Linked DNA regions of Homo sapiens: region 2 is linked to region 1. The links are contacts of gene promoters, found by promoter capture Hi-C in blood cells and fetal thymus (Javierre and others, 2016). All regions are on one chromosome and are shown on one strand. Each heading gives the region's core, a stretch centred on a gene start or on the middle of the fragment in contact. The rest is flanking DNA. Distances are from core to core; before and after follow the strand shown. Region 1 holds the start of PLEKHG6 (pleckstrin homology and RhoGEF domain containing G6). Region 2 holds the start of CD9 (CD9 molecule).

Region 1 (6,807 bases), core at 1-2,500:
CTCTCTCACATGTGTGCATATTTGGGGTACAAGCTCCTGCACTGGTCTCAAATGGGAACAAGGGTCACAGACAGGTCTCGGGCTTTCTGGATACACCCAGGTGGGAGGGTTCTCCTTGCACCTAGATATAACCCCATCCCCTTCCCCATATAAAGCTTGGGAAAAAGCTGGAGGGAGGCCATGGTGGGTGGGGTGGGCTGGGAGTGGGGGTGGCTGGAGACAGCCCAGTCTGCCACCAGTTTTTGTACAGCCTGTAAGCCTTTACATATTTACATAGTTGAAACAACTGCTGCCCCCCCTGCAAAAAAGCCACCAATATTTTGGGACAAGTAAATATTACATGATATTCAAATTCAGTGTCCATAAACACAGTTTTGTTGGAATCCATCCTCTTCTGCTGGTCTCCTAATAACCTGTGACTGCTTCTTGCTAGTTGGGACAGACGGTGTAGGCCGCGAAGTCTCTAATCTTTACTGTCTGGCCTTTACTGAAAGGCTTGCCCATCTCCTACCTGAACCCTCCTGACCACAGACAGGGAGGTGAGTGGGGCCAGCTGTCCGGCCACTGCCCTTAGAGACCAGCCAAATAGAATTAGAGTTTCTCCAGTTTCGGGCTATATATTTGGTCCTCCCCAGACTCTGGGAATACCACCATGGAGCTGGGGGCCAGGCGTGGGGCTCCATCCCTCCCCCCTAAACCTGGAGGGAGGGCCCGCCCTCGAGTGGGCAGGGCCTGGAAGAGGAGAGGCCTCCTAAGGGGCGGTGGGCTCAAGAAGGCTGCGCAGGTGTTTGTGCCCCGACCGGGTGGGCCTGAGGTCCTGCCTCAGCCCTCCCTTACCTTCCTCCGATTCAGGAGCAGAGGAGGAAACGTTCGCTGTCCCTCCTGCCGCCTCCCAATAGTCCTCCCTCTGAGGGCGCTGTCTCCCTCGCACTGCTCCCTACCCAGGGTCCTGTCTCAGCCCAGCCCCCGGCTCCCCTCCTCCCGCCTTCGGGAGGCCAGGCCTTCCTTCCCCTTCGCCCCGGCTTCCAGGCCCCGGGTCCCGGCCGCCCCGCCCCCGGGCCGCGTAGCCCTCCCGCCGCTCACCTGTGCCCACAGGTGTCACCGCACCCGCTGCCCTGCGCCGCCCTCCCCGCCCGCGGGGCTCCCCGTCGCCGTCGGCTCCCCGGCGATGCCAGCCAGCCCCGATGCCCAGCCTGGGACTGGGATCGAGCGGCCCGCGGGAGCCGGGCAGCGCGGGTCCGGGCGAGGAGGGCGGGGACCGGGCTGGCCCCTCCCTACCGCCAGCACCGCTCGGGGCAGAGGGGCAGAGGGGCGGGGCCCTGGGGACCGAGCAGCCCCCGCCCTCACGCAGCCACCGCCTTCCCCGGAGAGGACAGCTCACGTGGCGGTGCCCTCCTTTCCCCTTTTCGGTCGCACCTGAACTCGACACCCGCCGGCCGAGCGGGAGGGCTGGGACCGCGCGCCCTCCACTCCGGGCCAGACCCCCGCGAGGCGCTGCAGTAATGAGGGCTGAGTAAGGGGCGGGGCGCCGCCGGGGGAGGCGGCGAGGGTGACAACCTGTGGCAGGCACCCCTCTCTCCTGCTGGTCGCGGCGAGTGGCCGGCCGTCCGGTCCTCCCCCTGCCTCGGCCTAGACCCCTAAGCAGGCAGGGAGCCCGCCTGCCAGCTGGAGGGGCAGGGGGCCCCGTCGCTGTGTGGAGTCCAAAGTGTGAGCCTTATCTCTCAGAGGACCGGCTGGCCTGCCTGGTGGAAGGTGATACTGGAAGGCTATCCTGGACTTTGCCTTTGCTCCAGGGATAGGCAGCTGAGGCCTGACCCGCACTTCTCCTATGACCTAAGACTCAGGTGGGGGCACCCTCCCAGTTCACCTGCAAATAAGCCCACTCCCGGCTACACCAGGGTCACCCAGCCCTTGCGGTGGCTGCTAAAATAGATGCTGTGGGGCCAGGCGCGATGGCTCACGCCTGTAATCCCAACACTTTGGGAGGCCGAGGCGGGCGGATCACAAGGTCGGGAGATGGAGACCAGCCTGGCCAATATGGTGAAACCCCGACTCTACTAAAAATACAAAAATTAGCTGGGCATGGTGACGGGCGCCTGTAGTCCCAGCTACTTGGGAGGCTGAGGCGGGAGAATCGCTTGAACCTGGGAGGTGGAGGTTGCAGTGAGCCAAGACAGCACTACTGCACTCCAGCCTGGGCAACAGAGTGAAACTCCATCTCAAAAAAAAAAAAAAAAAAAAAGAAAGAAAAAGAAAAAGATGCTGTGGAAGGACTGACACATGCTGGGCATTGCATGAAAGGACCATACTTTATTTTCTTTATTTTTAAAATTTATTTTTTAAAAAGAAAATAGAGACAATATCTTGCTGTGTGGCCCAGGATGGACTCCAACTCCTGGGTTCAAGCGATCCTCCTGCTTCGGTTTCCCCACCTTTTCACTTCTCCAAATCATGGCACCTCGTCTGACAGAAGCACTGGATATTTGAGATAGAAGTGTCCTGTGGATGTGTGGTCATTATAATCTCACAACCATGAAACCCAAGACCCTGTAGTTGGCAGGTGGCAGGTCTGAGGCTCCCAGCCCCTCACCCTGACTGTGGTCTATTTCCTGCCAATGAACTCAACAGTGATTGATACGGCTCCTTACTTCTTCAGAGCATCCTGAAGTTCAGGAAACACTTTCAGAAGCAGAATCTCCTTGAGTTGCCAGGGGAAAAGGCCTCTATTCCCTTTTCCCATCTAGGCTATGAAACGCATACATGATCAGAGTGTTCTAGTCCTCACTCGGACTCTGGTGACTCTATTTTGTTTGGAGGAGGAATCTATATCTTTGGGCAGTTTCTAATTTTGTATTCCCTGTGTCCATCCTCAAATCTGCCCTCTGGGATTCTCTTTCTCTGAGCTTGCTGTTGTGTGATTGCTCTGCTGGTTCAGAAGTGTCCTCTGTTCCTCCAGCTCCTTGAACCAGCCTGTCTCCTGCTCCTGGCCCAGCTGGTGGTGGGACTAGTTTTCGGGGGTGAAGTCAGGTGGGAAAGGAACTGCAGTGGCAAGAAACCAGAGTGTGCCTAGTTCCTAGCCCTTCCCTCTTCCCATTCACTGTGTGTGTGTGTGTGTGTGTGTGTGTGTGTGTGTGTGTGTGTGTGTGTGTGTGTGGTGAGAGCTAGACAGAGATAGAGAGATGTCCAGGGATGACAAGAGTAGCCATGAGGGAAAGAGTTAATAAGCCAGGAGAGGAGGTGGTGATTACGGACAGTATTAAATGACACCCCAGAGACAGCTGGTGCCAATGGCCCCTAGCTTCTCCTCCCAGTGTCTCCCAGAAGGAGTGGGAAGGAGGAATAAGAGGGAAGATGAAATTGAGAGAGCACCAAAGACAAGCCTGGGCTTACAGTGCTCTGGGGTGAGCTGGCTAGAGGGGCCCAGTGGCAGGTGGTGGTGGGTGGCGGGGTGGTTAACCCTTTCACTTCCCTCTAGGCGTTGAGGTCCAGTCTCCACCCACTACTGCCCCAGGGCCTGTCTTCAGCCTCCCTGGGAGGAGAGGTTCCCAGGGCAAGCTGGAGTCTAGAAGCCAGAGGTGTGGCCGGGCACAGGTGTGTGGCCTAGGAGGCAGGCCTCCATGTTCTGTTTCTTCTCTTCTGTCACTCTCACAGTCTCCACTTCCATGACTCCTCTGTGCTGCGGAGAGCACACTCCTATGGCAGGCTGAGGGGAGCATTCTCAGGGAGCTGAATGAAATGTAAAGAATTGGGAGGCTGGAGGCTTGGCCTCTGCCAAGTGAGGCTAGGGGCCATCTGGTCCTTGGACCAGAGTATGCCATCTGGATACTTCTCTTTATTCCTGGTTATCCTAGCCTTTCCTCACATGTCTAGCTTGAGTCATATGCCTCACTTTCTCCCAGGTAAGATGCTCCTCATTAGGCCCCTGGATTGACCCCATAACTGATGGTAAAGTGTGTGTCCACGGTCAGAGCTCTGAGGATCAAATGCTTCTGTCCAATAGCAGCCTGAGGATAACTGCCTGGGGTTGGCATAAGGGGCTCACCAGGCAGGAAGGTCAGGGAAACTCATTTGTGCCTCGACCTCTGCTGAGCCCATATCTCTCAGGGCAGAAGTGGGGACCATCTGGGCTAATGAGGGGCTGGCAGGCACTAGCAACAGGAGGCAGCTAATGGGAGCTGTGTCCTCCCTGCCCAGAGCGAGGCAGAAACTGAGGGTTCAAGCTAGGAGGCGCCAGGTCATGTGAGGCAGATGAATACCAGGAGGACAGGCCACAGGGCAAAGCCTCTGGTGCCTCAGGCCAGAACTGGTGCTTCCCGTTTCTTCTTTCGTCCCCTCCCCCTTCCTTCCACATTTACTGGCAATGTGTAAGACAGTAGGAATATAGAAAAGAATAAGAGGCCCTGACTTCTAGGGGCTTACAGACTAGTGGGGAGGCAGATGGGCGAAAAGAACATTGATATTTAAGTTAGACCAAGAACGACTAAGTCAGGAGCTGTGGGAACACTTTGGAGGGACCGGTTACTACATAGGGGAGCCAGGGATGGCTTCTAGAGGAGGCGAGCTTTGTGTTGGGACTCGAAGGATGAGTAGCAGTCAGCTGGGCTGAGAAGGAGGAAAGGACATTTCTGGAGGAGGGAAGAGCATGTTTAAAAAGAAACTGGGGAAGGGCAGACTTCCCTAAAGGCCTCCTGAGGGTCTACCCTGTTGGCTCCCTGGGAATATCCCAGCTTCCGAGCCGAGGGTCTCTGGGTGGTGGCTTAGGAGGACGAACCTTCTTTGTGGCCTTCCAGGACCTCCGCAGTTTGACCTCAGTTATACTTCCCTACTCAATCCCTAGATGTGTCCCCATTCCCTGGGTCGGCCTCGACTTTCCTGACTCCATGCCTTTGCTCAAGCTGTTCCCCTCAGCTGGGTGCCTTGTCCTCCGACTCCACTTACCTCCTTCGAGGTCTTTCCTAGGACTGCCTCCTTCACGAAGCCTTTCCTAATAATCCCGCAGCCAGGCTGATCACTTTCCTCCCTGCTTGCAGCTGCCTTGACCGCTATGTTTCTTTAAAAGGCACCACTCTTGTTCTCCCTACTAAGTTGATATTAGCATGTGCCACCTATGCCTGAGGGCAGAGACCAGCCTAACACAAGACTGGCATGGTGTTTGGGAATTGAACTGGATTGACTTGCTAGAGGACCCAGACAGAATGACTTGCAGATAGACTGGCCTGTACTGTTCTGTCCCTACCCAAAGGAACCACATTTGCTTTTTAGATACCTGGAATTCTTCCATAATTTCAGTTTCCTTTCCTGCTTGATTACTGTAGCATCAGGACATCTGTGATGCACCTAAATGTTCCTCTCCATTAGGGCAAACATACCATGTAAGTTTACCTTGCAGGCCAATTCTTTTCTCTTTTTCTTTTTTTAAAATTCCAGATTCTCTCAGATCCTGAATTGCGGGCTAATTCTGATAGGTGGTGGGTTCCTGGAACATTAACTTAAGAAGGATTCTGTGGCTGGCTCAGCAGAAAGAATGCTAAGATGGCTTAGCAATGTCTGCCCCAGGGGAAAGAGGGCTCTTTCTGCCTTAGCGTGAGGTTTATCAGTCACTTGTCTTGCACTGAGCCAAGACTGGGACACTGAGAATGTAAGGCCTTTGCCTCTGTTGGAAGCTGATGGCGAAGGTGACTAGAAGACAATCGGGTGGATCTACCTTCTTGGGATTTACGGTGGCATATCTTCCAGTCAGATGTCTGGATGTCCAGGTCTGTGCTCCGAGGCACCCTTTTGACATGCGGCCCCAGAGAGGCTGTGGAATTTTTTTTCTTTTTTTGAGACAGGGTCTCACTCTGTCAACCAGACTGGAGTGCAGTAGCGCCATCACAGCTCTCTGCAGCCCAGACCTCCGAGGCTCCAGTGATCCTCGCATCTCAGCCTCCCGAGTAGCTGGGACCACAGGCACATGCCAACATGCCCTGTAGTGAACAGAACACTGGATGAACAGATGGGTGAACAGAATATTGATATGGAAGTTAGACATAGAAGGGATAAACTGGGAGCTGCAGGAACACTTTGGAAGGACCAGTTACTACATAGGGGAGCTAGGGATGGCTTCTAGAGGAGGCAAGCTTTGTGCTGGGACTTGAGGGATGAGTAGTAGTCGGCTGGGTAGAGAAGGAGGAAAAGGTGCTGGACCAAGAGCTGTGGAATCTTTTTTTTTTTCTTTTTCTTTTTGTTTGTTTGTTTGTTTTTGAGATGGAGTCTTGCTCTGTCGCCAGGCTGGAGTGTAGTGGTGGCGCAATCTCGGCTCACTGCAACCTCTGCCTCCCGGGTTCAAGCGATTCTCCTGCCTCAGCCTCCCAAGTAGCTGGAACTACAGTAGCGTGCCACCATGCCCAGCTAATTTTTGTGTTTTTAGTAGAGACGGGGTTTCACCATGTTGGCCAGGATGGTCTCGATCTCCTGACCTCGTGATTGGCCTGCCTCCGCCTCCCAAAGTGCTGGGATTACAGGCATGAGCCACTGTGCCCAGCCCATTTTGTGTCGGTTTCTACCTTAATTTTGCATTAATCATTTCTGCCTGCCTAAATGACGGATCTCTGCCTCCCTTACTGCTCCTGCACTTGTTGGTTTGTTGTTTTTAGAATACAAATGCACTGTGCAGGGCTCAGAGGCTTGGAGCCATCTCTGTCTCATGCCAGGGTCTTGGTTCATAGGGAAGCCCTTCATCGGGCTTTGGGGGCAGCTGGATTTGATTTGTCTATATCTCCATCCTTGTATGTAAAATGAGGATAAAGTAACTAAATTTTGGAATCA
Region 2 (6,420 bases), core at 3,705-6,204, 110 kb after region 1:
CCGTCCCGCCCGGCTCTGGACCCGGCCTTGGAGCCAGCTGGCAGCCGCAGGGCGCTCTCTCTTCCCGCCCGGTGCCTGCCCGGTGCGGGCAGTGCCAGCTGCCGGCACTCGCGGCCGCGGCCAGTGTCCGGGGCCCGCGAACAGGTGGGCCCTGAGAGGAGCGCGCGGCAGTCGCGCTCACTCACCCAGAAGATGAAGTTAAATCCGAACAGCAGGTATTTGATGCACTTGGTGCCTCCTTTGACCGGCATGGTGAGGGCTAACTTAGCCTGGGCCGAACGGGTGCGGGACTGGGGGGCGCGCGCAGCTGGGACTGGCGGGACCTGGCGCTGGATACAGATGCAGGCGGCTGTAGGCTGGTCTCCGGCTGCACTTTTAAAAAGTGCCACTCCTTAGGGCGCGCGACCCGCTGCGGTGCGCATGTGCCGGGAAAAGCCGCCCCCACTCCCCCCGCCGGCCACGCCTCCCGCCCCACCGGCCCCGCCCGGGCCGCACCCCCCCCGCCCCCCGCCCCCGCCCAGGTCGGCGAGCCCCGGCCCCAGCTGCCCCGCGGAGCCCGACCCTCTCCCTGTTTCCCCGCCTAGTCGCCCTAACCCCCACCCGCCACCCACTCCTTCTTCAAGCCGTCTTGGGGTCTTTGCAGGCAGCCACTCCCTGCCACTTTTACCGCGGACTTACGTGGAGGCCTCGCCCTTCCGGTTCCCCCGCGTTTGGTCTGGGCGCCGGACCGGGCGTTCTGCTTTGGGAGACTCTTCCCCGGGTCGTCAGGGCTAAAGGCCCCTTGGCCAAGGCCTGCTGCCAGAGTGAGGGGCCCTTCTGCTTTGCGAGGATTTAAAGGGAAGCCGCCTGGCTTAATTTCGCCCTCGTCTGTCTCCTTGCAAACCTTCGCTCGCTGACCATACTTTTCATTGGGCACAGCATGTGGGGTAGGAGGAATTAGAAGCGCGCAGTCTGGGTGGGATGACAGATGGGAGGCTTTTGGAAGTAATTAGCAAATACCTATCACCGAATAATAACACAGCTGAGGGCTGGGCAGTCCCCAAGCGCTTCCTGCACTTGAGGTTTAGTTGCCCCAGAGGGAAAAAGGGTCTGTAGACGGCTTCTGTTTTCTCTCTACTCCTCCACCCCACCCTCCCTCCTGCGTCTTTGGACTTGCTCGCTGCTGCCTTGAACTGCTCCAGATGCCGAGCTCGGAGCGCTTCTCCTGAGCTCACAAACTTTCTGTAGCTCTCCAGATTCAAGGACCTAAGTCGAAATTCCTCGTCTTGCCCTCAAGGCCCTGTACAGAGCACTGATCTGACTTCTCCCGGACCCAGAGCCCACCCCACTCGCTGGCCGGCATGCGCCCTGGCTGGCTGGCCCCCCCCCAACGTCACTTGTAGGAATTCTGTGGGTCTTTAAACACTCCTTTCCTGATTCTCTGGAGTGGACGAGGAGAGTCACCTTCTTTTGAAGTCCCCGAATCCCTTTGTATTATTTTCAAAATGAAGTTTCCTTTACTGTCCTTTATGATTACAAAAGCAAGATACAGTCATTACAGAAACAACCGAAATACCAAGAAGTGAAAGGAACAGACCTCAAAATTCTGCTCACCAGAAACAGCCACTGTTAGCACATTGCTGTTATTTGCCTGTTTATTATCAGTAGACTTGTCTCATTGGTTCAAAAACATTTTTCAGTATCTATTAGGGTATTTCATTAGGGGTAGGAGCTGAAAAACATGGATTAGTCCTTGTTTCTGCTCAGGGACCAGTGTGGGAGGAGACAGGCAGCCAGACAATGGTTTGAGGGTGATAGGTGCAGTTACGGGGAGAGGCTTGGGGGCTAAGAGGCTAAGGAGAGGCCTCTGACCCAGACTGGGAGATGATGCTGCAGAACCACAGGGAAAGTTGCCGCCAAGGGAGAATCCTGGGCAAAGGCTGGGGCAGGGGCTGTCCGGGCTCTGGGCTGGAGCCTGGAGTCACGGGGTAGTTTGTGGGAAGGTGAGAAAGAGCCTTGTGCTCCTGGACTTTGCACTCTGAGCATTAGGGGCCACCGAAAGGTTCAAGCAGGGGAATGGTTGGATCTGCTGTGTTTTCAGAGGTTCTCTGCCTGTGTTTTAGGTAGTTGGGTGGGGGAAGGCCGGAGGGGCAGGTAGGAAGCCCCTTGAGGACCAGGACCATTGTTGGCATCTCCAGTCCTTGGCTCAGTGCTTTACGGGATTGCATGGAACATGGAGATGTTGTATTTGGGGAGACGCAATCAGGTAATATGAGGGGAGCAGTGGTAGATGAAAGTTGAGCTGAGGACCAGGTGCAAATCTGCTAGGAGGCTGTGGAGTAGTTCAGGTGAGAGAAGAATGAATGAAGGCGGGGCAATGGGATAAAGCCTAGAGAAGGCAGGGCAAAACCCCATGAGGTGTCAGGCCGGGAAGGGGAGGGAGAGATCAGAGGCAGAGCAGCAGAAGCTAGTAACAAGTAGGGGCACAGGGCACATCCCCACGTCAATCTGAGTCCGAGAGGCTCCCCAGAGCAGGGGACATTGCAGCAGCTGACTTGACTTGGGAAGGTGGAGTCAGTAGTCAATGCGGAGGAGGGAATTCCAAGAGGGAACTGGATATGCAAAGACACAGAAGCGGGCAGCTGGCTGCACTGGGGAAACAACCGATAGTGGTACATGGGGAGGAAGGAGGACAAGGAAGGAGAGGCAGGGCCTAAACTGAGCCTAATGCCAAGAGGACAAGCAGAGGAATTTTGGTGATGCTTGACTTTACACATCCTAACCAGTGTCCAGGATGATTCCAGCACAGGGGAGGAGTGTGAAGCACCCTGGAGGGTGGGAAGGAGGCCGGAAAACAGTCAGTGTTCCATTGTGCCCTTTTGGGCCTGCGTCCATCTATCTTGGGAGACAGGTCTTAGGAAAAGAAAGATTTTATTGCATCTCCCCCTTCTCCCAAGTTAACAAGTACTGGTGGGAGGAGTTCAGTAAATATTTAAGTTTATAATAGAAATTACTTATTAGGGTAAACGTGAGTGTTGACAGAGGAAATCCACAGGGAGGCCTTAGAACCTGCCTGCCACAGAAGCGCTGCAGAAACGCTGCCTGTTGCTCCTATTCCTATTATTGTTTACACTGAAGAAAGAATTGGGGTCAGCCTATATAGTTCAGTGCCACATTCGTATAATCAAGGCATCCTTTTTATGTGATGAGAGCATTGGGCCTGAAGTGAGGGGGTCTGAGTTCTACTCTTGGTTCTGACCCTTTGGTCTATGTTAGGCAGGCAGCCTCCTCTCTGGGCCTCAGTCTCCTCACCTGTACAAGAGTATTGTGAAAGGAAAATAAATCTTAGGACCCCAAAATCAATAAGCCAAAGGAAAAAATCAAGCTGGGAACTGCCACAGGCAAACCTGCCTCCCATTCCTAAATAAGATAGCTACAAAGATTTTTTAAAAAGCTATGCACTTCTCGGCCGGGCGCAGTGGCTCACGCCTGTAATCCCAGCACTTTGGGAGGCCAAGGTGGGCGGATCACGAGGTGAGGAGATCGAGACCATCCTGGCCAACATAGTGAAACCGCATCTCTACTAAAAATACAAAAATTAGCCAGGCATGGTGGCGCATACCTATAATCCCAGCTACTCGGGAGGCAGAGGCAGGAGAATCCCTTGAACCAGGGAGTTGGAGGTTGCAGTGAGCCGAGATCGCGCCACAGCACTCTAGCCTGGCGACAGAGTGAGACTCCGTCTCAAAAAGAAAAAACAAAAAAAGCTATGCACTTCTTGTTGGGCGCTGTGACTCACACCTGTGATCCAAGCACTTTAGGAGGCCGACGCGGGAGGATCATGAGGTCAGGAGATCAAGACCATCCTGGCTAACACGGTGAAACCTCGTCTCTACTAAAAATACAAAAAAATTAGCCGGGCGTGGCGGCGGGCGCCTGTAGTCCCAGCTACTCAGGAGGCTGAGGCAGGAGAATGGCGTGAACCCGGGAGGCAGAGCTTGCAGTGAGCCGAGATCGCGCCACTGCCCTCCAGCCTGGGGGACACAGCCAGACTCCGTCTCAAAAAAAAAAAAAAAAAAAAAAGCAGCTATGCACTTCTTTCACAATTTGCCCATGAGGAAATTTCTGGTGGACCCTATGATATTTGCCCTAAAACAGTTCTGTTGAATTTCACCATGACAATGTAAATTGATAGCATATCTTCACAGGTACAGAAAAAAGGACAGAACTCAAAGTCATCCCTCTGCTCACCTGAGACAAATGCATATCTGATTGCTTCCTCCAATGTAAAAATGAAGATTCGCTGTGCTAGACAAGGCATAAGTGACTTATTTCTCTACCCTCCTCTGCCATGTAAATTGTGCATTCAGTGAGAGGATGATCAGTGACTCAAAAGAATGCAACCGTTTGTTTCTTACCTACCCACACCTTAAAAAAACTTTCTTCCTCTTTCCCCACCAGCCGCCTTTTAAATATTGAAGCCCTCAAAATCATCTTTGCAGAAGGCACAGATCTGCCTCCTGGGCGCCCATCTGTAACCTTGGCAAAATAAACTTTCTAAATTGATTGAGACCTGTCTCAGATACTTTTTGGTTCACAGCATTTTGGATCAGGAGGTGTCTTTCATTCCTCCTGACATTCTGTGTCACAATAAACCCCTGGGCCAAAGTGCATTTGTTACAGACAGTTAGTGCTACAGGCAACCAGGAAGGTGAGCGATGGAAAAATTATGTTTTGCCTTAACCGGAAGAGGAAAATATGGGTAAGCCCCTGAGTCAGAAATCACATGGAAGCAGCCAGGCCTTCCAGGCTTTGTGGTGCTGGAGTGGGAAAGCTTTTCCTCCCTTCCCTCAAGGCGTCCTGTCTCTGGGAAAGAAACCCCAGCTCAGGCTCAGGGTCCACTTTGGCTCTTGTGCCCCCCCTGGTGGTAAGATTTGAACACGCAGAGGCCAGGTGACCTAATGAGCCGTCACACCCATGCCCCAGGTCCCTCCAGCTGTGGGCAATGGCTTTGTAAGGCAACAGGTAGGACCCTCGCTCTCACAGGCCACCAAGGCCCTTCCAGCCACCACACCAGTGGCCATCTTGATTCACCTCCTTCACTTCTAGAAGCTTCTCTCCTGTTCCTCTTTCTAAGCTCAAATACACCACCTTATGAAGCCTTCCTGGAGCACTCCAGTCTTTTTCTCCGTGGATTACCTTGAGTCTCGCATGTGTGATTCTCTGGTCATCATCATCTTCCTTTATGTGTCCACTTCTTGGTAGTGAGCTCCTCGAGGGTGCACTTGCATTTGATTAATTTCTGTGCTCTCCCTAGCTCCCGGTCCCTTCCTGGCCCAGAGCAGGCCCTCTGCAAACATCTGCAGAATGACGGCTGGGCGTGGGGCTTTCTCAGGCCCCTGCCCTTCTCTCTCAGACCTCTCCTGGAGCACTCATCCCCTTTTGTGCCTTCCACCATTTTCTCTGTTTAACTCATCTCTCTGTAAATGCAAGTCCTGATATCCAAGAGCCTGCAGATTTTTTTTTTTTGAGACCAAGTCTCGCTCTGTTGCCCAGGCTGGAGTGCAGTGGCTCAATCTCGGCTCACTACAACCTCCATCCCTGGGCTCAAGAGACTCTCTTGCCTCAGCCTCCCAAGCAGATTGAATTACAGGTGTGCGCTGCCATGCCCGGCTAATAATTTTTTTTTTTTTAGACGGAGTCTCGCTTTGTCACCCAGGCTGGAGTGCAGTGGCACGATCTTGGCTCACTGCAACCTCTGCCTCCCGGGTTCAAGTGATTCTTCTGCCTCAGCCTCCCAAGTAGCTGGGACTACAGGCGCACACCACCATGCCCAGCTAATTTTTGTATTTTTAGTAGAGACGGGGTTTCACCATATTGGCCAGGCTGGTCTTGAACTCCTGAATTCGTTATCTACCCACCTCAGCCTCCCAAAGTGCTGGGATTACAGGCGTAAGCCACCGTGTTTTTTATATTTTTTATATTTTTTATATTTTTAGTAGAGATGGGGTTTCCTCCTGTTGGTCAGGCTGGTCTTGAACTCCTGGCCCCAGGTGATCCGCCCACCTCAGCCTCCCAAAGTGCTGGGATTACAGGCGTGCGCCACCGTGCCTGGCCCGTTTCCACTTCTAACGGCCCTCCAAATAGGCCCACGTTCCAATCCCCAAAACTGTGAATGTGTTACTTTCCATGGCATAGCCTGGACCATCCCAGTGGGCCCAGTGGAATCCAAAGGGTTCTTATAAGAGACAGGTGGAAGTGTCAAAGCCAGGGAAGGAGATGTGACGACAGAAGCAGAGGTCGCAGTGATGCACAGCTGTGTGTTGGGGAACAAGGACAGCCTCTAGAAGCTGGAGAAGGCGAAGAAACGAATTCTCCCCTGCAGCTGCCAGAGGGATCCAACACAGCCCTGCCCACCCATTTTAGATTTCAGACCTCTAG

The links. Contacts are between HindIII fragments. The CHiCAGO score rates a contact against its expected background, and 5 or more counts as called.
Region 2: a contact is called between a fragment that was not itself captured here and the fragment with the promoter of PLEKHG6 in region 1, in 1 of 17 cell types (M1 macrophages). The highest score is 5.4, in M1 macrophages.

The regions. Positions count from the first base shown.
Region 1 is chr12:6,305,125-6,311,931 of GRCh38, reverse strand. It overlaps PLEKHG6 (pleckstrin homology and RhoGEF domain containing G6), which reads right to left and starts at 1,250. Exons shown (of 16, transcript NM_001384598.1): 1 at 1,084-1,250. RefSeq lists a silencer at 1,304-1,353 and an enhancer at 1,716-2,436. The HindIII fragment of the contact is 5,964 bases long and covers 158-6,121 here.
Region 2 is chr12:6,194,331-6,200,750 of GRCh38, reverse strand. It overlaps CD9 (CD9 molecule), which reads right to left and starts at 351. Exons shown (of 8, transcript NM_001769.4): 1 at 186-351. The coding sequence starts at 251. RefSeq lists enhancers at 255-866, 867-1,479. The HindIII fragment of the contact is 278 bases long and covers 4,816-5,093 here.